Linked DNA regions of Homo sapiens: all the other regions are linked to region 2. The links are contacts of gene promoters, found by promoter capture Hi-C in human tissues and cell types (Jung and others, 2019). All regions are on one chromosome and are shown on one strand. Each heading gives the region's core, a stretch centred on a gene start or on the middle of the fragment in contact. The rest is flanking DNA. Distances are from core to core; before and after follow the strand shown.

Region 1 (4,775 bases), core at 148-2,647, 200 kb after region 2:
CAAGTAGATGGAAGGATGGAGGGATGGGTAGCTAGATGGATGGAGGGATGAATAGGTGGATGGATGGAAGGATGGGAGGGATGGGTAGGTAGATGAGTGGAAGGATGGAGGGATGGGTAGGTAGATGGATGGAGAGATGGGTAAGTAGATGGGTGGAAGGATGGAGGGATGGGTGGGTAGATGGATGGAAGGATGGAGGGGTGGGTGGGTAGATGGGTAGAAAGATGGAGGGATTGGTAGGTAGATGTATGGAAGGATGGAGGGATGGGTGGGTAGATGGATGGAAGGATGGAGGGATGGGTGGATGGATGGAGGGATCGGTAGGTAGATGGATGGAAGGATGGAGGATGGGTAGGTAGATGGATGGAAGGATGGAGCATGGGTAGGTAGATGGATGGAAGGATGGAGGATGGGTAGGTAGATGGATGGAAGGATGGAGGATGGGTAAGTAGATGGGTGGAAGGATGGAGGGATGGGTGGGTAGATGGATGGAAGGATGGAGGGATGGGTAAGTAGATGGATAGATGAAGGATGGGTAGGTAGATGGATGGAAGGATGGAGGATGGGTAGGTAGATGGATGGAAGGATGGAGGATGGGTAGGTAGATGGATGGAAGGATGGAGGATGGGTAAGTAGATGGGTGGAAGGATGGAGGGATGGGTAGGTAGGTGGATGGAAAGATGGAGGGAGGAGGAGACTGATGGCTAGAGGGAGGAAAGAGGAAGCTTTGGAGGGAGGGTTGGCTAGTTAAATGTTTCTGAGGGCTGGTTGGATGTTTGGAGAAATGTTTGGAAAGATAAAGAAGTGGATGGATGGATGGATGGATGGAGGCAGGGAAGGGAGGGATGTTTTGGAGGGTTGGAGGAATATTTGGAGGGGTGTTTGAGGGGAGGGAAGGCTAGATGGATGGGAGGGTGGATGGGTAAATAAATACAGAGAACACCTGCTTCCCCTGGTGTCAGATGGGACTAACGATCCCTTCCCTATGGGGGTGGAACAAGCTAACATTGCTGAAGTGCTCAGACAGTGCCTGGCACCTAGTGAGCACTCGACAAATGTTAGCCATCCTCATCCTCATCATTCAGACCATAGGGCTCAGCCTTGCCCCGGTGGCTTCTCTGACTCAGAGCGCCCCTCCTCATGAGCCCCTCTCCCTTGCTTCTGCCTCAGTTTCCCCACCACCCTCCCCTTCCTTGGGAACACATTGCAGACATCTTCAAGGGTCACCCAGAGCCTTGAGCCACAAAGCCCTTCTTGTCTACACTGGCTCCCTCACTCCTTCACCCGTTTATATGTAGGACAGACCCCCACCACACGCCTCATGTCTGGGGAGGCAGGACAGCAGGGTGGTGAAGAGCAGGGCTCAGGAGCCAGGCTTCCTAGGTTCCAGGCCTGGCTCTGCTGCCTGCTTGCTGGGAGACGGAGGATGACCCTCCCGGTGCCTCCAGTTCTCATCTGCAAAGTACAGGCCGTGGGACCCCTCCTGGGATACCCTGAGGATTAGCTTAGTGTGTGTGAGGCATGGTCAGGACTCACTTAGTCTTGGTTGATATCATCATTATCATCATCAGGTGCTGGGAGAGTTGGAGTGGGAGGAAAAGGACCCTGTCCCTGGTCAGGGGTTTCTGGCTGGGAGGGCACCTGGGAGGTATTCCTTGTCCCCATCTATCCCCATGGACTCAAGGGAACAGAAACTCTGACCCCCTCCAGGGGGCTCCCCTGAAGGGAGGGGGCCAGGCAAGCTGCCAAAATCTAACCTTGTCTCCCTCGCCCTCTTCCTGACCCCACCCCATCCAGTGGCGATGGATGATGAGGATGGGAGATGCTTACTAGACGTGATTTGGTGAGTAACGGGCTCCCCACCCCCTGCCCTCTGTCTCAACCCCCTCCCTTCCCTCCCCTCCCCAGCTCCTTACCTCCTCAGCGTCTCTTCCTCTTCTCTTCCAGTGACCCACAGGCCCTCAATGACTTCTTGCATGGATCCGAGAAGGTAAGCATGGGCGCAGGGAGAGGCATTCCCTGAGTGGGGGGCTGTCTAATTGGGAGTGAGGGACAGGGAGAGACATGTCCCTTTGATGAGGTAGCCATCTGCCTTGTGGCTTCTAACGCCAGGCACTGGAGTTACGGCCATGAGCAAAACTCATGGTAATCCCCTGTCCTCCTTCCATGGACACCTCCTTGGGAAACAAAGAAACCAGTCACTAATAAAGGTAATGGTGAAAAGGACCATGTAGAGTATGATAAAAAATAATAATGTCATTTGCACAATGAAAGAGGTTTAAAAGAAAATAAATGGGTCCCAGGGGCTCCTTTAGATAGTGTGATCAGAAAGGGTCACACGAGGGAGGTAACATTGAAGGTGAGACCTGAAGGATCACAGGGAGGTAGGTGGCCAGGCCCGGTGCTCCTGGCAGAGGGAAGAGCAAGTTCAAAGGTGGGAGAGAGCTTGGCATGGTTGAGGAACAGGAAGGAGGCTGATGGGGCCAAACTGAAGGGAAAACTAGTAGGAGGTGAGACTGTAGTAGGTAAAAGTCACCAGGTTGTGTAGGCCTGGAAGCCCGATAGAGGAGTTGTTATTTTTATTCTGAATGTGACAGGCAGCTCTGATGGGCCCTTAAACACGAGAATGCCATATTTGATTTGCTTCCCAGAGAACGGAACAAAATGGGGAAAAGTAGAAGTCTGTTGAGCTCTGAGCAGCTGTATTAGTATCTATGGCTGTGTAGATTATCCCAGCATGCAGTGCCTTCAACAATTGTTAGAGCTCTTGCAGTGTCTGAAGGTCAGGAATCTGGGAGCAGCTTAGCTCGGTGGTTCAGGCTCAGGGACTCTCATGAGGTTGCAGTCAAGCTGTAGGCTGGGGCTGCAGTCATCCAAAGGTTTGACTGGGGCTGGCAGATGTGCTTCCACCAGGACTCATTCCTGTGGCTGTTGGCAGGAGGCCTCAGTTCCTCACCACGGGGGCCTCTCCTTAGTGCTGCTTGAGTGTCTTCACAGCATGGCAGCTGGCTTCCCCCAGAACGAGTGATCCGAGAGAGGACACAGGAGGAACCCGCAGTGCCCTTAATGACCCAGTCTCCAAAGTCCCACACCCTTCCTCCCATCACACTGTATTCACTAGAAGCTAATCAGTCAGTCTGGCCAGCACTCAGAGGGAGGGGAATTGAGCTCCACCTCTTGAAAGGAGAGGTTTCAAATAATTTATAGAGCAGAGGCATGAGCAATGGGATGATGGCAGCCTGGGCCATGGTGCAGGCAGTGGGGGAGGCATGTGGCACTGGATTTGGGATCTATCTGGGAGGTGGCATCAACTAGACTTGCTGGTGGACTCGATGTTGAGGGGGAGAGAGTGTCCACCATGGCTCCTGGATTTTGGCTTGAGCAACTGAGTGGATTCTGGTGCCATTTTCTGAAGTTGGGAATTTGGGGAAGATTCCAGAAGTCCAGGTGGTGCTGGTGGATGTACAAGTTGGGGTTCTGGAGAGATGTCCAGATGGAACAAGAAATTAGGGAAGCCCGAGCCATGGACATACATTCACTGGGCACATATGTGGATGCCAGGGCCTGTTCTGGGCACTAAGGATGGTGCTAAGCATCTGAGAATGCCCTGCCCTTCCAGAGATGGCACCGCATGGCTTGTCAGGTGCCCGGATGGTAGGTGTGCCAGGCACTCAGGCTGCGTTGGGAAAGGAGTACTTAGTGAGAAGGGACAGGAGCTGTTGGACCACGAGTGACCACTCCTGAAGGCTGTGCTACTGGAGAGACTGGGGGGCAGTGGCAGGGCGCAGCTTGGGCAGAGGCGTGAAGGCAGGATTCCGGAATTCGAGGCAGTCACAGCAGGATCGCTTCGCAGGCCAGGCTCGGGGACTCAGTGCTGGGGATGCCTTGGGTTTTAGGCAGGCACCCAAGCCCCTGCCTTTGGGGCCTCTTTTCGGAGGCGAGAGTTTCCCATACCCCCAGCCCTCTCCCATCCCAACCCTTGTCTTTTTGTCCTGAGTGACCCTAAATTGGTTTCTGCTCCAGAGCATGGGCCTGCCCTGCTGACTTTTGACCTTGGATGGGGCGGGTCTTGTTGCAGCTTGACAGTGATGACCTCCTGGATAATCCCGGGGAGGCCCAAAGTGCCTTCTATGAAGGTCCTGGGGTAAGTGCCGTGGCTCCCGATCATTGCCTGAGCTGTTGGGGCTGCCAGCGGGAGGAGGGCCCTGAAGCCAAGAGGGGAGGCTTGGGCTCATCTCGTGAGGGCTGTTGACAGGAGGAGGGCGGGGGTGGGCCACCCAGGGTGGCTGGACCACCCTGGCAGTGCAGGAGGGAGCAGAGCTGGGGAACCCTGTGGGGGGCCAACATGGACAAGGCTGACTGTGCCTTGCAGACCCCTTGGGGAAGAGGTGAGGGTCCCCGAGGCCTTGGGGCCCTGGGGTGGCTCATGCAGAGTGGTTCTGGGGAGCTGAAGCGGATGTGGGTTGTGGGGTTCACAGGGGCACTCCTGGAGAGCAGAGGGCTGGGGGAGGCCTGGGGTCCTGCCCAACTCAGCCATGGCAGGGTGTGACCTAGGGGAGGGGCCTCCTCACCTGCAGACTTCAGTCTTCACCTGGGCAGTGAATATGGGTGCTGAGAAAAGCCCAGAGTGGCCAATGCAGAGGATGTTTATTGAGCACCTACTGTGTGCCTGACTATGCCGGTCCCATGACTAAGTGCCAGTTGTCCACACCACGGTGGCCACCTCCTTCCTCCTTCTCCCTCTTCTGTTGCTGCTTTCCCCCCTTCACCTTTTC
Region 2 (4,837 bases), core at 1,432-3,931:
TCAGCAAGGCCCCTAATGATACGTCTAATTAGCAGCCCCCTAATTAGCAACAACTTAGGCATAATTACAAACCCACCAGGATCCAAAGCAAAGGCTCATGCTCCCTTCTCCCTCCGCCTCCCTGGCTTTCAGGAGAAACAGGGGCCAGCCGGGAGTCAGGAATTCTTCTAAAGCATCAAACCAAACCCCGCTCTCTCTGGGAGGAAGCCTCGGCCTGGGAAGTCCTCCCTCAGGTTTAACCACCTGTCCTTCCTGCTGCAGTCCTCAAGAGAGACCACAGCCAGGTGATGCGGGTTCTCATGTCCACCCTCCTAGCCCAGGGGCTGGGTCAAGCACAGCCTAGTGCAATCCCTTTTTCCTGCAAAACCTGGTTTCTCGCTGGGGCCTTGCGAGAGGAGCAGTCAGGGAGAGAAAGCACTAGATAAATATTTGTGAAATGAATGACCAAGAGGTCTGAGCCCTGTCACCAGGGACCGTGGGCTCCCTCTGCTCCTGGCTCCTGCCTCTCCCTCTCCATCCACCAGCAGCCCTGAAACCCAATCTGCTTTTAGAATCCAGGGGCAAAAGGATCAGGTGGAGCCCAGGGTGGGAGCGGGGAGGGCAGATGGCAGGTACCGTCTCCCAGGGCCATCTCTCCCTCCCTTCGTGGGCGTGCGGCCAGCTGGGTCGGCAGTGAGCACCCCTGTTCTGCCTCACGTGCCTCTTAGGTCCTTGATCAGAAGAACAGGACTGCATGCCTGGGGGTGGGTGCAGTCTGGCGTGCCAGGTAAGACCCGTCCTTCATATCCCTCACGCTACCACCCCACAGTGGGGCGGCAAGGGAGGGTGCTTTTCTGACTGTGCCTGTGTTGGGGGGCTGGCCCTTGCAGGACCGAGCTGGGGACTCAGACTTCTAAACATGCACATTTACTGCCCCAGCATGAGCGCAGGCGCTCCCATCACCTCAAAATGGTCCAGTGTGGGGATCACACCACAGAGCTTGGGTGCTCGAGGCTGTGATACACTGATAATACGTAAACTGAGGCCCAGAGGAGGAACAGGGCTCTTAACCTAGTGCTCTTTAAAGCCATCTGAAGCCCCCTCCGTGGGCACTGTCACACAGGGCTGGGACCTCACCTGCAGCCAGGGAGACATCATACACACACACACACACACACACACACACACACACACACACCAGGGCTACAGGCACAGCCTCGTACCTTTTCGCCATCACTCACTCTCTTGCCCACCTTCTCCAGGGCCCCCTTCTCTCAAGGAAGGCAGACAGTGTGTTGGCCAGGGCCCTCTCAGCACCCCCCACTGAGACAGTGTGAGGCTGGCACACCAGGAAAGGGATGGAAGTGAGACTGCAGGAAGGACTGGCCCGGTCTAACTCAGTACCTAGTGCTTGCCCAGAGCAGGAAAGGCGCTCAGTAATTATCAACAAGAATGAATGAATCAAGAGCTGGACAAACAGCAAGAGGTATGGAAGTGAGACGGCAGGAAGGACTGGTCCAGTTACACGAGGAAGACTGGGGAGGTTAGATTGAAGGGAGGTCTGGTCTCATCTCTACTACAGAGGCTACCGGTTAAACTGCAAGAAGGACCGGCCTCAGAACGCCAGAAACAAGGCAGGGGGAGGTGGGCTCGGTCCTCAGGGGAGAGCTGGGGTGGGTGCCGGCTGGGAGGAGTGGAGAGAGCAGGGGAGCTCTGCTGAAGTGGGGAGAGGAGTTTAGAGGACTCCAGGCCTGGGGGAGCCCACTCTGCGGGTGGGGGGGTCTAATTCCTCCAGGTCCCCCCTGCCAGGGGCGGAGACAAAGGTGTGTGGGAGGAGGGTGCACTGGCTCCCAGGGAGAGCCAGAGAAGAGGAAAGAGAGAGAGAAACAGAGACTGAGATATCCAGAGACAGAGATGGAGACGAGGGGGAGATGGGGAGGGAGGGAGAGAGAGAGAGAGAGAGAGAGACATGCGGACATGGGAAGAGACAGAGACACAGAGAAAGCAGAGACAGAGAGAGACACAGGAAAGCTGAGACAAGGGAGAGAGGCAGAGACACAGAGACACAGAGAAACAGAGATGGCGCAAGAGGAAAGGAGAGAGAAACCCAGGACTTAGAGACAGAGCCCCAGAGAGACTCCGAACAGACCCCGGCACAGAGACACAGAGAGAGGGAGACAGGAGTGAGAGACTGAGAGACAGGGACTCCCAGAGGCGGCCAGACTCTGCTAGACAGAGACCCCTGAGACATGTGGAGAGACAGAAAGATGAGACCCAGACACAGGAAGGCGGGGGCAGAGGTAGAGAGCGCGAGGGGGGGTGCCCCAGACGGGGTGGGGGCGGGGTGTCCTCGCCCCCCAGTACCCAGGCGGTCCCCCTCCCCAGCCGCCCGAGAACCAGGAGGGACTGAAGGTGTTGGGGCGGCTGGTGGCACTCCCACCCCACAGAAGGTACGCGTGCTGGGCCAGGCAGCCCCCCACCTCCATAAACCAGCCCAGGGAAGCCAGCTCCAGGCTTCCCGAACCGCCCCCACTCCGCACCTGGGGTAACCCCGTCCTTTTCCCACGCCCCCACCTCCCCACCAATGGGGTCTCTTACCTGCGGCTACAGCCTGGAGCAGGTCCCCCCAGCGCTGGGCTGGCAGTGGTGGGCGACTCCGCCCGAAAGAGAGAGAGAGATTGAGAGAGAGAAAAGCCTGAGACTGAGAGGGAGAGCCGGGGAGGAGGGGAGGGAGAGGGGATAGAGGGAGGAGAAGAGGAGAGGGGAGGGACACGGGGGAGGGGGAGGCGGCGAGGGAGCGAGGGAGGGGGAGGAGCCGGAGAGAGGGGGAGGAGGCGGAGGCGGGCAGAGGGAAGGCGGTGCGGGAGGCGGGGGGAGGCCCGGGGAGGGGCCTGGGGGAGCAGGGAGCCCGAGCCTCCTCCCCAGCCTCCGGGTTCAGCACCAGAGGCAGGGGACAGCACCGGAGGGCGCTCCTGTGTGTTTCAGAAGCAGCCCCCGCCCCCCAACACACACACACACACACGCACACACACACACGCACGCAGTCTCCCAGCCATACAAGGGCCAACAGCTACAAATAGTTACAGACTTACAGAACTAGGGGGAGGGCAAGAATGTTTAGCTGGAGTCAGATCCAAATTCACATACTGTGCCTGCACAGCCTCACAAAGGAGGCCAGAAACAACCACAAAGACACCCATTAATAAGAATAACAACAGCTGCCATACATACAGGCAGCCCTGACCACGTGCCTGGCATCGGCAGCACATTATTATTATTTGAGACAGGGTCTCACTCTGTCACCCAGGCTGGAGTGCAGTGGCACGATCTTGGCTTACTGCAGCCTCAACCTCCTGGGCTCAAGCAATCCTCCTGCCTCAGCCTCCTGAGTAGCTGGGACTACAGGTGCCCGCCACCACCACGCCAGGCTTTTTCCCTCCATTTTTTTTTTTTAGGAGATGGGATCTCACCATGTTACCCAGGCTGGTCTCCAACTCCTGGGCTCAAGCGATCCTTCTGCCTTGGCCTCCCGAGTAGCTGGGACTACAGGTGCCCACCACCACCACGCCAGGCTTTTTTTCTCTTCATTTTTTTTAAGAGACGGGGTCTCACTATTTTACCTAGGCTAGTCTCCAACTCCCGGGCTTAAGCAATCCTTCTGCCTCGGCCTCCCAAAGCGCTGAGATTACAGGTGAGAGCCACCGCACAGGTGAGAGCCACCGCACCTGGCATGTTCTAATGTTTTTTATAAATTTAGGTAAATGCTATTATGAGCTTCACTTACAGACAGGGAAACCAAGGCATGAGGTGGTAAATATGGCTCCAGATTCTACACCCTTAACTGCTGCACCGCACAATTCCCCAGGCTGAGGACGGGTCAGGTCAAGAAGAGACTTGCAGGCTGGGTGCGGTGGCTCACGCCTGTAATCCCAGCACTTTAGGAGGCTGAGGCGAGCAGATCACTTGACGTCAGGAGTTGGAGACCAGCCTGGCCAACATGGCGAAACCCTGTCTCTTCTAAAAATACAAAAATTAGCCAGGCCAGGTGGCACACGCCTGTAATCCCAGCTACTTGGGAGGCTGAGGCAGGAGAAATCGCTTGAACCTGGGAGGTGGAGGCTGCAGTGAGCTGAGATCATGCCACCGCACTCTAGCCTGGGTGACAGAGTGAGACTCCATCTCCAAAAAAAAAAAAAAAAAAGAAAGAAATGAACTGCAAAGGGCCAGGCAGGTGGCCTGGGCTCCTGAAGACACAAACTCATGCACCCTGCGATGGGCCCACACACATACCCCCACGCAAGCACACACCTCTGCAAGGCACACCAGCACTACACCCACCCCCAATCCTGCTCCCCCCCACAACAGGGGGTGATGGCGTGTTAGTCGGTGTGGAGTGCTCCTTCTCTAGAGGCGGACAGTGGGAGGGAGGGGGCCTTGCTCGTGCCACCGGTCCTGCCCACTGCCAGTCCTGGCTGGACACCGTCAGGCCTGCTGGCCAGGGGAGGGAGAGGATCCGGCTTCCTCCAACTTCCCACGCCTGGGCCTGGCTTCTGGGAAAGAGGGTGAAGACAGGGGTGGCCAGGAGTTGCTGAGCTCCTAACTCCCATAAACGCTCGGTAGAGAACTGGTGGCTGGGTCTTCCCTGTCAGTGCTGGTGGTCAGACTTCTGAGTGGACCTCCATAGCGGGAGGTAGACAGATGGCCAAAATGACTACGGTGTCTGCCTCTCCCCTGAACCCCCAGGAAGCAGATGTCCTGCCCAACCCCTGCCCCCAGCCTGGATACGGCCCAGGGAATGATCATCCCCCAACCCTGCTGACCCAGATTCTATTCCTGGCCTGCAGTGGACGGAGGACAA
Region 3 (4,703 bases), core at 1,142-3,641, 220 kb after region 2:
TATTTTTAGAGAGACGAGGTTTCACCATGTTGGCCAGGCTGGTCTTGGACTCCTGACCTCAAGTGATCCACCCGCCTTGGCATCCCAAAGTGCTGGGATTACAGGTGTGAGCCACTATGCCAGGCCTAGCTTTGTTTTTTCTAAGACAAATATTGTAGAAGAAGTAATATTTTGGTATGAAGTTTCTGTTTAACCCCCCGACCCCAATTTTATTTAAAACATTTTTTAAATAAGTCATTTTATTCACATAGTATGATCATCAGAAAGTTTTTTTTTCTTTTTTTCCAGAGACAGGGTCTTGCTCTGTTGCCCAGGCTGGTCTTGAACTCCTGGGCTCAAGCAGTCCTCCTGCCTTGGCCTCCGAGAGTGCTGGGATTACAGGCATGAGCCACTGAGCCTGGCCTAATTTATTTTTATTTATTTTTTCTGAGACTGAGTCTCTCTCTGTCGCCCAGGCTGGAGTGCAGTGGCAAGATCTTGGCTCACTGCAAGCTACGCCTGCTGGGTTCAAGCAGTTCTCCCTGCCTCAGCCTCCGGAGTAGCTGGGATTACAGGTGCACACCATCCCGCCCTGCTAATTTCTGTATTTTTAGTAGAGACAGGGTTTCGCCATGTTGGCCAGGCTGGTCTTGAACTCCTGACCTCAGGTGATCCGCCTGCCTGGCCTCCCAAAGTACTGGGATTATTATAGGCGTGAGCCACCACGCCTGGCCACCTGGCCTAATTTTTGTATCCCTTTCCAGTTCTTCGTGTATATACAACCTAGTGCAAATATGGTTTACGTTTCTCTCCCATTTGTACCCAAAGGGGAGCTCATTATGTACTTACTGTGGCAGCAACAGTGAGTTTGCTTGTTTTCTGTTAGAGTCTTGAAGTATTCCTTTGTACAGAAGAGCCACAGTTCATTTCCCCAGGAAATGCCATATTGATGCACTTTAGACCATATCCAGATTTTGGCGTTCTACACGAAGCTGCAGGAAACAACTTGTTCACCTGTTTTGTTTTTGTTTTTGTTTTTGAGACAGAGTTTCGCTCTTTTTGCCCAGGCTGGAGTGCAATGGCGTGATACTGGCTCACTGCAACCTCCGCCTCCCAGGTTCAAGCAATTCTCCTGACTCAGCCTCCCTAGTAGCTGGGATTACAGGTGCACGCCACCATGCCCAGCTAATTTTTGTATTTTTAATAGAGACGGGGTTTCACCATGTTGGCCAGGCTGGTCTCAAACTCCTGACCTCAGGTGATCCACCCGCCTCAGCCTCCCAAAGTGCTGGGATTACAGGTGTGAGCCACCGCGCCCGGCCTACTTGTTCACCTGTTATTTCCCACATATGCAGGTCTGTTTACTTCCTGGAAGCCTGTTTGCTGGACTAAAGCAAATGTGCATTTATAACTTGGATAGCTACTGCTGAATTGCGTTCCTCTTGAGTTGTAGCAAATTGTGCCAGTTGAGACCCCTAAGGGCAGTATATACAAGCATCTTTACTAGACATAGGCTTTATTCCTAATGCGACGGGTGGTAAATGGTACCCTAGGGTGAAAAATAGTGCCCTGGGGTGCGTTTTGCTGTGCATTTCTCTTATTACAAGTGAGGTTGAGTAGCTCTGAAAATACTTAAGCCTTTTGTCTTTCCTTTTCTGTGCACTGTCTGATCATATCCTTTGCCCCTTTTTCACCAGTTGTAATTCTTAGTGATTTCTAGAGTCTCTCTATATATGAGAGAGATGAACTTTGTATTTGGAGTTGCAACTGTTTTCCCCAGTAAGTCATTTGGCATGTGACTTAATTTGTGGATTGTGTGTGTGTGTGTGTGTGTGCGCACTTTTGATGAGAATGAAATTAAATTTTTTTAATTTTTTGGTATCTTTAAGCTTTTTATGTTTAAATGACTTCAAACACATAAAAAGTTTCAGAATTAGTACAGAGAGCTCATAGGAGTTCTTTACTCCTCAACTAGATGTATTAGTTATCTATTGCTATGCAGGAAATTACCCTCAAAACTTAGCAGCTTCAAACAGCAAGTATTCACGTGTCTCACACTGTTTCTAAACATTAGGAATCTGAAAGCAGCTTAGCTAGGAGGTTCTAGCTCTGGATCTCCCATGAAGTTGTGGTCATCTGAAGGTCCCACTGATCTGGAGAACCTGCTCCCACGCTCACTTGTGTGGCTATTAGCAGGAGGCCTCAATTGCTTCCTCAGTGGGCCTCTCCAAAGGGCAGCACATGACACACAGCGGTTGGCTTCCCGCAAAGTGAGTGACCCAATAGAAACAGACAGAATGCTCAGGATGGGAGCCGCAGGCTTTTTATAACTAATCTTGGAAGTGTCATATAATCACTTCTGCCAAATTCTATTGGCCACAAAGACCAGCATATGGGAGGGGACTGAACACAAGGAGGTGAGGATTGTTGGTGGCTGCCTCCCACGTCTACCCATTGTCAGCCTTTTGCTACATCTGCCTTGACCTTAGCATTCTCATTCTGTGTACACTTTTTTCTGAATCAGTTGAGAGTAAGTTGCAACCATTATACCCGTTTGCCCCTTAATATTTTATTTTATTTATTTATGTATTTATTTATTTTTGAGTCTGAGTCTCACTCTGTCGCCTAGTCTGGAGTGCAGTGGTACAATCTTGGCTCACTGTAGCCTCTGCCTCCCAGGTTCAAGCAATTCTCTTGCCTCAGCCTCCTGAGTGGCCGGGATTACAGGCACACATCGCACCCTGCTAATTTTTGTGTTTTTAGTACAGATGGGGTTTCACCATGTTGACTAGGCTGGTCTCAAACTCCTGGGCTCAAGTGATCCACCTGCCTTGGCCTCCCAAAGTGCTGGGATTGCAAGCGTGAGCCACCGCGGCCAGCCTACCCCTTAATATTTTAGTATAATATTTCAGCCTTGGAGAACAAGGACATTCTCTTACTTAACCATCATACTGCAAAGAAATAAAGCAGACAGCATTGACATGATACTGTTGTCATATCCTCTGTCCATAATCCAACTTTACCAGGTGCCCAGGGATCCTGTAATGTTGTATTATTCTCCTATTTCATGTAGCATTGGAGTGCCGCTGCATGTGGGCCACCTCCCTGAGCCCTTGGAACCTACTGAGTGGGCCAGTTCTCTTTTCTCCGACTCAGCGACGCACCTGCCATTGGCCATTTGAGTCATTTCTCCTTTTCCTCTATTGTAAATGCTCCCAAAGTGGGCAACCCCATAGCAAGTACTTGAATATTCTTTTTTTTTTTTGAGACGGAGTTTCACTCTTGTGCCCAGGCTGGAGTGCAGTGGCGCGATCTCATTTCACTACAACCTCCGCCTCCTGGGTTCAAGCAATTCTCCAGCCTCAGTCTCCTGAGTAACTGGGATTACAGGTGCATGCCACCATGCCCGGCTAATTATTTTTGTATTTTTAGTAGAGACAGGGTTTCATCATATTGATCAGGCTGGTCTCGAACTCCTGACCTCTGGTTATCTGCCCGCCTCAGCCTCCCAAAGTGCTGGGATTACAGGCGTGAGCCACCGTGCCCGGCCGAATATTCTTCATCACAGATTCCTGGAGGGGAATTTCCAGGTCAAAGTTGTGACCCTTTCAAAGTCCCCAGACCAAGCTGCCTTCCAGGAGGCAGTCCCACCAGCCGTACACAGCGCCAAGGACTGCGCCTCTCATCTCTTCTTAGAGGTGGCAAACCTTTTGAAGACTGATTGATTGATTGGTTTGGTTTGGTTCTTTAACTGTCAGAAGTTACTCAGGGCCCAGCTTGGAAGGGATGCTGGAAGGGCCCTGGGACTTAGAGGCCAAAGCTGGTGGTGAATCTGATGTCATGCCGAGATGCCCGGTTCTGGAGTGTGGTGGTGCTGGCTGTCCTCGGGCAGATATCCTGAGCCCTCTGAGCCTGAACTCAGTCAGCTTTGAGAAATGGCTCAGAAGTCACTGAGCAGTGTAAAGGCCTCAGTTCCGCCTTCACCAGCCTGGAGAGTCTGGACCAGTTTTGGAGCCTTGGCCTCAGTTTCTTATCTGTGAAATGGGTCCAGTGTTACCACTGCCCTCAGGGCTAGGGAGAGATCACACAAATGGATGCGGGAGGCCGGCCATTCGTGTTAGATCAGCATGAGCTGTTACTAGGATGCAGATTCTGTGACAGCAAGTATCACGGTGCCAGCCCAGTGTTGGGTGCACAGCTGGTGCCCACTGGTTACACAGTGGCTGCTCTGGTTATGATTCTTTGGGAGGAGGGTCCAGAACGGCAAGGTGCTCCGTCTGAGACATGCTTTAGGCGAGGTGGCTGTGTGCGTGTGACAGAACTAGCACCAGATCGCGTGTGCTTGCAGACACAGGCTTCATCAGAGTCTGGTACGTCGTGCACACGCATGCACGCTTGTACCTGCAAGCTCACGTGGCGCCCAGGTAGGCCTGCAGCCATGGACACACAGGCACACAGAGGCAGGTGCCCAGGACACTTAGAAGGGGGTCCAGGCCTTCCCATGCCCGCATCCAGAGGTCCACACGTGGCTGTGAACCCAGGCCTGTCCCTGTGTGGCCATCCGTATTCTCGGCAGCCCCCGTGCCGTGGCCATCAACCCCGAGCCATGGTACACAGCATCATGCTGGTGTCTCTTTGCCTTGACTTGGCTGGATGGGCTGGTGGGGGCTGGCGGCTGGGACGCTGCCCTGCCTGCCCTCCTTCCCCGCTGCTGTGCTCGCCGC
Region 4 (4,391 bases), core at 1,443-3,942, 240 kb before region 2:
AGCCTACCCGGGGTTAGGACCCAGATGGAGAAGAGTGGAGGTGTGTGTGCATGCGGAGGGGGTGACGGCCCCACAGAGACACGCCCAGCCGGGGGATGACACCACCGGGTCCTGGCTGGCCTGGAGAGCCTCCCGTGCATACGGTGATGGGCACACAGGAGGGACAGGGGGCACAGGACGGCTCTCACAGCAAGGACAGGGCTCACACAGGACGGATGGAGGGGTCTAGCAGGTGTGTGTATGAGGGCTGTGACAGTCCCACAACACAAACTCACTCCACTTGGGACTCACAGCATGGGCTGGTGGGGACAACTTTCCCAACACAGCGACGGGCACACAGGGAGGGCAGTGAGGCACAGCGAGGCCCCCACAGCACACACACAAGGACTCACACGGGACTGGCCAGCCTGACCGCCCACCCCACCTCCCACTTGCACACAAACACTGAGATGGCCCCAGTCTCGGACATCACTACTCAGTACACACAATACACACACACCCCCGACCAAAGCAGGAGCATCCAGACAGACCATCACAAGCACTCTACATACTGCGCACACTGGCTGGCACAATCCATCCCCACACATCCAAACTGTCAAAGTCTCACACACTGACCCACTGTTGATATGCCCAGGGGCACATGCAAACACAATGCAGCCTTTGCAAACACAAACACACACACACAAGCTAGGCACTGCCTCAGTTCCCAAACATGCCCCTCTCCACACACACACACTCACTCCAGAGATAAGACCTGCACACCTCTGGACTCACATATCAACACAAAACAGACACCCACGGACACACATACATCAACACCCCCAAAACACACCCACATGTCACCAACTCTCAGGACACACGTAGATCAGGCACACACAGACACATGCCATCAGACCTCAACACACCACCAGACACCAACCCACCCTCCTCACGCAACCCTCAAACATCATCACCAACTGTCAGCAACACACACACACACACACCCTACAGCTAACTCTAATCCCACACAGCCCAGCAGCACACACACCTAGCGCACCCACAGAAAACACTGGTCTCACGTGACTGACATAAACACTACACACACGCAGCCCACATGACACACATGAGCCAGCCGATCACAGTGACAAGCCCCTCAGACCCAACACACACACACACACACAGGCTCAGACACAACCCCATCCAGAGGCTGCCAGCAACACCCACCGTCTACACTGCATAGACCCCACAGATCCTGGGTCCTCAAATCCCAGACGCTGATGCCAGACACACAAGCCAAACCCAGACTGAAACAACCCCCCACCACACACATACATACACACACACACTCACACCTGACAACTCACACAGACACCTGGACAGAAAACAGACATTTGCATTTAGCAGGCGCAGCATCACAAACGCTGGGCAAAAGACACATGCCCCGGAGATACAGAGACGGCCTCAGCCAAGACAGAAACACACAGGCAAGACACAAGCACACATATCGCACGCTCGGGCAAGACACACACATAAACACACAAACAGCTCACTCCAGCAACACACACACACTACAACCTCCACACCCCAGCACACGCAGGCACCACAGACCCCCAGTATCATCCCGGAACAGCACACACAGACAACTCTCACCGACAACACACGCAGGTCCACCCACCCCACAAGCAGGGCACCCACAGACAGAACCCCACACAAACAGGCGCGGGGACTCACGCAGACACCCCGACGGGTCAGAAACCCCAACATTCCTCTGGATCGACACCACCACTCCCTGCAGAACCCAGCACAAACTCGGAGCCAGACACGCGCACACACCCAGGCGAGACACCTGCAGATCCACAACCCCGCACACGCGCGCTCCCACGGCGGTCCCAGACACCCCCCTCCGCTGTCACAGCCCCCCCCACCGCCGCCACGTGCGCCCGCCCCGCCCGCCAGGCGAGCGCGGGGCCAATAACCGGCTGTTGCTGGGGCGCAGCCCCCGCCCGCAGGAGCCGCAGACTCCACGGCCCGCGAGCCGCCCCCCGTCGCCGCCCCCAGCGGGCGCGCGCCCTGGGTGTGGCCGCCCCTCCGTGCCGCCCCCCCGCCCCTCCCGGACTTTGGGGGCTGGGGCACCCCTGGGGTCGACCCTCTTCCCCGGGGCCGCACTGGCCGCCAGGGGGCGCTGCCGAGCCCGCACCCCATTGTTTGTAAACAAACCCGCCAGACCGCCGAGGCACCTGTGCGCCCAGACCGGCGCCCCAACGCCGAGCCGCCTCTCACCCGGCGACCCTGGCCCAGGGTCCCTCGCGGGGTTTGGAGAGGCGCGGTGTGGGGAGGCAGGGCGCCCACACTGCTCTCCGCCTGCACTCCTGTCACCTCCTCCAGGGAGTCCACCCGGCCTGGCCGATCGCCGCCGGAGAGGATTCGGGGCGCGCACACTCACCCCGGGGGCATGAACACGCCGGAGGGGGCGGCGGTGGGGGGCGGGCGGCTTCCTTCAGGAGGGCGCGCCCGCCGAGCGCCGCTCTCCGCGGCGGCTGCTGCTGTGGCTGTCGCTGCTGCTGCCGCTCTAACTGCAGTGGCGGCTGCTGTGGCTGTGGCTGCTGCTGCTCCCCGGGCCGCAGGCGCGTCCGCGTCGTGGCCGCTGCTGGGATCGCTGGTGCCGCCGCCGCCGCCGCCAGGCGCCCGCTCGCATGTGGCTCGCGCCGCGTCTCAGGCCGCCCGGCGGATCCCGGGCCCGCTCCAAAGCCGCCCCGCCCCGCCCCGCCCCGCCCCCGCCCGGCGGGTCCCACGCCCCGCCCCCGCGTGACGCTACGGCCCCGCCCGCCCGCCGCGGACAAGTCAGGACTTGCAGGCGCGCGCCGCGCCCCCCCCTACCTCCGCGCCGGGGGTTTCCCTGCAGCGGGGGACGGGGCAGGGCCTAGCCCAAGGCAAGGAGGACCCAGGCGCTGTGCGGCGGGGTGTGGGGAGATCGCCCAGACACCGGGACAGTCGGACACACACACTGACTGGGACCCACAGATCCACACCCCCAGCGATGCGTACACAGACCGACCGACGGGCGTTCCAGGGTCCACAAAGTCACGTGCAGGCAGAGCCCAGAGGATGTACTCACAGACACAAGGCCACAGTCTCGCAAATCCACACCATGGACAGGGGCATGAGCACACACACTCACATACTGATGGGGCTCACACTTACACACACCCAGACGGAAATGCACAGACTCACTAACAGGGTCCCCTGGACAAGCAGACGGACACAATGACAGGGCCACACACAGTTGCAGAAACACCCACACTGATGATCACACCTGGGCCCACAAACTGTGTTCACAAACAACCCTACCGAACAGGCACCCACACCACACACACGGTGGTGCAACCACACAGACATAGGCGGAGTGCTTATCAGGAAACACAAACTTGCTGATAGGCACAGGGGACACACACATACACACAGACACCTGTTACAGGGATACCTGGATACACGGCCAAATCCAAATCACACTCCCACAGGGACATACACAAATGCACTCACACAATTTCACAGCTAACACATTAAAACTATCAGAAAGTGACATTCGCCCGACACGGTGGCTCATGCCTGTAATCCCAGCACTTTGGGAGGCCAAGGTGCGTGGACTGCCTGAGGTCAGGAATTCGAGACCAGCCTGACCAACATGATGAAACCCCATCTCTACTAAAAATACAAAATTAGCCGGGCGTTGTGGCGCATGCCTGTAATCCCAGCTACTTGGGAGGCTGAGGCAGGAGAACTGCTTGAACCCGGGAGGCGGAGGTTGCAGTGAGCCGAGATAGTGCCATTGCACTCTAGCCTGGGCAACAAGAGCAAACTCCGTCTTAAAAATAAAAATAAAGGAAAGAAACTGACATTCAGAGACACAAACCAAATCAGACATAGAAGAAACTGACCACCCACACATGTCACAAAGTCACACCTGTGACAGCTTCTTGCTAACTGGCCCACTGCACACACGTCGGAGCATGCACACCTGGCCACACTCACCACAAATCTGGCAGGGGACCCACGTCGTGGAAGCAGCCCTGGGCACCTGGCATGGACATGCCTGGGCAGACCCCATGCCAAATTTCATCCTGTCTCATAGCTTTCCATTCCGTTTCTTTTTCAGTTTCTCATTGTTACTTCCTGCCCTGCTCTGGTTTGGTGAGTTTTGTCCTTCCTTTTTCCAAAGCCGTGGATTCCTGTCTCCTCTACACTTTCCATCCTTACTGGGTCTCACCCAATCGCAATCGCCTCACCAGAGTGACTCACCTTCCAGTGCCTAGTGTGGGGCTGGCTGAGTAAGGATGTCAGACTTCTCAAACTTGACTGCCTCCAAGTACACACTCTTAGCTCCCCCAAGAGATGCAGGTAATCTATATCTCACG
Region 5 (4,174 bases), core at 496-2,995, 160 kb after region 2:
CCTACCGAGTAGGATGAGTGGGTTTTTTGTTTGTTTGTTTTGTTTTGTTTTGTTTTTTGAGACAGAGTCTTGCTCTGTTGCCCAGGCTGGAGTGCAGTGGCACGATCTCGGCTCACTGCAACCTCCACCTCCCGGGTTCAAGCGATTCTTCTGCCTCAGCCTCCCAAGTAGCTGGGATTACAGGCGCATGCCACTATGTCTGGCTAATTTCTGTATTTTTAGTAGAGACGGGATTTCTTCATGTTGGCCAGGCTGGTCTCGAACCCCTGACCTCGTGATCCACTCATGTCAGCTCCTCGAAGTGGTGGGATTACAGGTGTGAGCCACCGCGCCGGGCCAGGGTGTGGGGTTTAATTGGGATGATATGTTGTGGAGTGACTGGCACATGACAACATGACAAGGACTTTGTCATTGCTGGTTGCTATTACTATTGACTGTTGTTGCTATTATTATTACTAACCCCTCTTCGGTCTGTATGGGCTGGTGCAGACACATTGGGCTGTGATGCAGATCCACAGTTTTCTAGACTTGCACACCAGTTCCTGGGGGATCCTGTTACCACGTGAGTTCTGAGTCAGCTGGTGCAGACACTTTGCATTTCTTAACTCCCAGGTGAGGCTGCTGTGGTCAGGGGCCTGCCCTCTGAGTAGTAAGGTGTCCAGTGGTTTTCCAGGTGTTTCTGAGTTACTTTCAAGGATTCTGCAAATGGAGGGGAGGCATTGGATGCCAGGGTCAAAATAAGATTCCTTAGCTCTTAGCTTTGGGGTTTGCCAATTTGCAGCCAGGTCTGTGTTAATCATTACATATGGAAAAAAGTCATATAACACGACGAAAGTCTTTGCACCATCTCCTCTTCTTTCCTTTTCCAAAGGTGACCTCTGTGGGGAGTTTGGGGCTCATGGTCTCTCTCTGTTGTCCAGGCTGGAGTGCAGTGGCATGATCATAGTTCATTGCAGTCTCAACATCCTGGGTTCAGGTGATCCTTCCACCTCAGCCTCCTGAGTAGCTGGGGCTACAGGCACATGCCACCACACCCAGCTAATTTTTGTATTTTTTTTTGTAGACACAGGGTTTTGCCATGTTGCCCAGGCTGGTCTCAAACTCCTGGGCTCAAGTGATCCTCCTGCCTCGGCCTCCCAAAGTACTGGGATTACAGGTGTGAGCCACCGCACCTGGCCTTAATCATTTTTAAATGTGCAGTTCAGTAGTGTTAAATGTACTTTTATTATGTAACAGATCTCCAGAGCTTTTTCATCTTGCCCAACTGAAACTTTATTTATTTATTTTTTTGAGATGCAGTCTCGCTGTGTTGCCCAGGCTGGAGTGCAGTGGCACAATCTCGGCTCACTGCAAGCTCCGCTTCCCGGGTTCAAACCATTCTCCTGCCTCAGCCTCCCAAGTAGCTGAGACTACAGGTGCCCACCACCACGCCCGGCTAATTTTTTTTGTGTTTTTAGTAGAGACGGGGTTTCACCGTGTTAGCCAGGATAGTCTCAATCTCCTGACCTCATGATCCACCCGCCTCGGCCTCCCAAAGTGCTGGGATTACAGGCGTGAGCCACCACACCCGGCGTCCAACTGAAACTTTATATGCATTCAACAACTCCCCCCATCCCCAGTCCCTAGTAGCCTCCATTCAACTTTCTGTCTCTATGAATTTGACTTTAAGTGCCAAATTTAAGTGGACTCCTGTAGTATTTGTCATACTGTCACTGGCTTATTTCACTTATTGTATTGTCCTGAAGGCTTATTCGTGGTGTGGCATGTGACAGGATTTCTCTCCTCTTTAAGGTTGAATAATATTCCGTTGCATGAATAGACCACATTTTGCCTATCCATTTATCTGTCGATGAACACATGAGTTGCTTACTCCTCTTGGCTATTGCGAATAATGCTGCTTTGAACATGAGTGTGCAAATATCTATTTTTTTTGTGTGGTTTTTTTTGAGACGGAGTCTCGCTCTGTCGCCCAGGCTGGAGTACAGTGGTGCGATCTCGACTCACTGCAACCCCTGCCTCGCAGGTTCAAGTGATTCCTCTGCCTCAGCTTCCTGAGTAGCTGGGATTACAGGCACCCACCACCATACCCAGCTAATTTTTGTATTTTTAATAGAGATGGGGTTTCGCCATGTTGGCCAGCGTGGTCTCTAACTCCTGACCTCAGGTGATCCACCCGCTGTGGCCTCTTCTCAAAATGCTGGGATTACAGGCATGAGCCACGGCGCCCGGCCACCCATTTTAGCTCTTTTTAAGTGTATAATTCAGTGGCATTAAGTACTTTAATATTGTGTAACTGTCACCATTATCCATTACCAGAACCTTTTCATCATTCCAAATAGAAACTCTGTACCTATTAAAGAGTAACTCTCTATCCTCCCTTCCCTCAGCACCTCGTTACCTCTATTCTACTCTCTATATATTGGCCAATTCTTTTTTTTTTTTTTTTTTTGAGATGGAGTCTCACTCTGTCGCCTAGGCTGGAGTGCAGTGGCGCAATCTCGGCTCACTGCAAGCTCCGCCTCCTGGGTTCACGCCATTCTCCTGCCTCAGCCTTCTGAGTAGCTGGGACTATAGGCGTCCGCCACCACGCCTGGCTAATTTTTTTTGCTTTTTGTTTTTTTTTTAGTAGAGACGGGGTTTCACTTTGTTAGCCAGGATGGTCTCCATCTCCTGACCTCGTGATCTGCCCGCTTCGGCCTCCCAAAGTGCTGGGATTACAGGTGTGAGCCACTGCGCCCGGCCTATATTGGCTAATTCTAGGTACCTCATGTAAATGGAATCATCCAGTATTTGTCCTTTTGTGTTGATTTCACTTTACATGTCTTCATGGTTCATCCCTGTTGTAGCATGTATCAGAATTCTTTTCTTTTTTTGTGGCTAAGTTCATCTTCCATTGGATGGATAGACCACATTTGGTTTACCTATTCTGCCATCGATGGACACTTGGGTCATGTCCCCTTTTTGCTATTGTGAACGACGTTGCTGTGAACATAGGCTCTAAGTATCTGTTTGACTTTTTGCCTTCAGTTTGTTTGGGTTTATATCTAGGAGTGGAATTGCTGGGTTGTATGGTAATGATCTGTTCTAACTTTTGGAGGAGCAGTGGCTACATCATTTCACATTTCCACCTGCAGTGCACGTGGTTCCAGTTTCTCCACATCCTTGCCAACACTTGTTGTAGTCTTTTATTTTTTTTCCCCACACGAAGTTTTCAAAATCTGGTGTGTATTTTACACTCACAGCACATCTCAGTTGGGACTCGACATATTTCAAGTGCTCAAATGTCACGTGAAGCTGCTCATAGTGGAAAGCACAAGTTTAGTTGATTTATGTTTTTGGGGTTTTTTTTGAGACAGAGTCTGACTCTTTTGCCCATTCTGGAGTGCAGTCATCAAGGCTTACTGTAACGTTGAACTCCTGGGTTCAAGCGATTCTTTCACCTCAGCCTCCTGATAGCTGGGACTACAGATGTGCACCACCCCATCTGGCTAATTTTTTATTTTATTTTATTTTTTTGAGACTGAGTCATACTCTGTCACCCAGGCTGGAGTGCAGTGGCGCAATCTTGGCTCACTGCAACCTCCGCCTCCTGGGTTCAAGCAATGCTCCTGCCTCAGCCTTCTCAGTAGCTGGGATTACAGGCGCACGCCACCACACCCGGCTAATTTTTGTATTTTTAGTAAAGACAGGGTTTCACCATATTGGTCAGGCTGGTCTCGAACTCCTGACCTCAGGTGATCTGCCCTCCTCAGCCTCCCAAAGATCTGGGATTATAGGCATGAGCCACCACATCCAGCCTAATTTTAAAAATTTTTTGTAGAGGCAGGAACTCACTATGTTGCCCAGGTTGGTCTCAAACTCCTGGCCTCAAGTGATCTTTTTGCCTTGGCCTCCCAAAGTTCCGGGATTACAGATGTGAGCCACCGCACTCGGCCGATTTATGTTTATTATAATTATTGGTATGGCTGGAGGGCAGTGGTATGATCCCGGCTCATGGCAGCCTCTGCCTCTTGGGTTCAAGCAATTCTCCTGACTCAGCCTCCCAAGTAGCTGGGACTACAGGTGCACACTACCACGCCTGGCTAATTTTTGTATGCTTAGTAGAGACGGGGTTTCGCCATATTGGCCAGGCTGGTCTCAAAGTCGTGACCTCAGGTGATCCACCCGCTTCACC

What was found. Contacts are between HindIII fragments. The study calls those that stand out against the background at their distance.
Region 1: a fragment that was not itself captured here is called in contact with the fragment with the promoter of SLC8A2 in region 2 in 12 of the 25 tissues and cell types used here (IMR-90 fibroblasts, aorta, dorsolateral prefrontal cortex and 9 more).
Region 3: a fragment that was not itself captured here is called in contact with the fragment with the promoter of SLC8A2 in region 2 in 18 of the 25 tissues and cell types used here (H1 embryonic stem cells, IMR-90 fibroblasts, aorta and 15 more).
Region 4: the fragment with the promoter of BBC3 here is called in contact with the fragment with the promoter of SLC8A2 in region 2 in 2 of the 25 tissues and cell types used here (dorsolateral prefrontal cortex and spleen).
Region 5: a fragment that was not itself captured here is called in contact with the fragment with the promoter of SLC8A2 in region 2 in 8 of the 25 tissues and cell types used here (H1 embryonic stem cells, IMR-90 fibroblasts, bladder and 5 more).

The regions. Positions count from the first base shown.
Region 1 is chr19:47,671,773-47,676,547 of GRCh38, forward strand. It overlaps BICRA (BRD4 interacting chromatin remodeling complex associated protein), which reads left to right. Exons shown (of 15, transcript NM_001394372.1): 3 at 1,798-1,843; 4 at 1,948-1,990; 5 at 4,079-4,144. The coding sequence starts at 1,803. Among named protein-coding and RNA genes, the nearest start is that of EHD2, 39 kb to the right of the region's middle. The HindIII fragment of the contact is 5,493 bases long and covers 1-4,144 here.
Region 2 is chr19:47,469,212-47,474,048 of GRCh38, forward strand. SLC8A2 (solute carrier family 8 member A2) reads right to left here and starts at 2,682. Exons shown (of 10, transcript NM_015063.3): 1 at 2,578-2,682. RefSeq lists a silencer at 161-455. The HindIII fragment of the contact is 16,110 bases long and covers 1-4,837 here.
Region 3 is chr19:47,689,001-47,693,703 of GRCh38, forward strand. All of the region lies in intron 7 of BICRA (BRD4 interacting chromatin remodeling complex associated protein), which reads left to right. Among named protein-coding and RNA genes, the nearest start is that of EHD2, 22 kb to the right of the region's middle. RefSeq lists enhancers at 4,068-4,627, 4,628-4,703. The HindIII fragment of the contact is 9,551 bases long and covers 1-4,703 here.
Region 4 is chr19:47,228,507-47,232,897 of GRCh38, forward strand. BBC3 (BCL2 binding component 3) reads right to left here and starts at 2,693. Exons shown (of 4, transcript NM_014417.5): 1 at 2,423-2,693. RefSeq lists silencers at 1,851-2,570, 2,711-2,940 and enhancers at 3,081-3,200, 3,910-4,391, 3,960-4,229. The HindIII fragment of the contact is 48,720 bases long and covers 1-4,391 here.
Region 5 is chr19:47,627,730-47,631,903 of GRCh38, forward strand. All of the region lies in intron 1 of BICRA (BRD4 interacting chromatin remodeling complex associated protein), which reads left to right. Among named protein-coding and RNA genes, the nearest start is that of BICRA, 21 kb to the left of the region's middle. The HindIII fragment of the contact is 9,138 bases long and covers 1-4,174 here.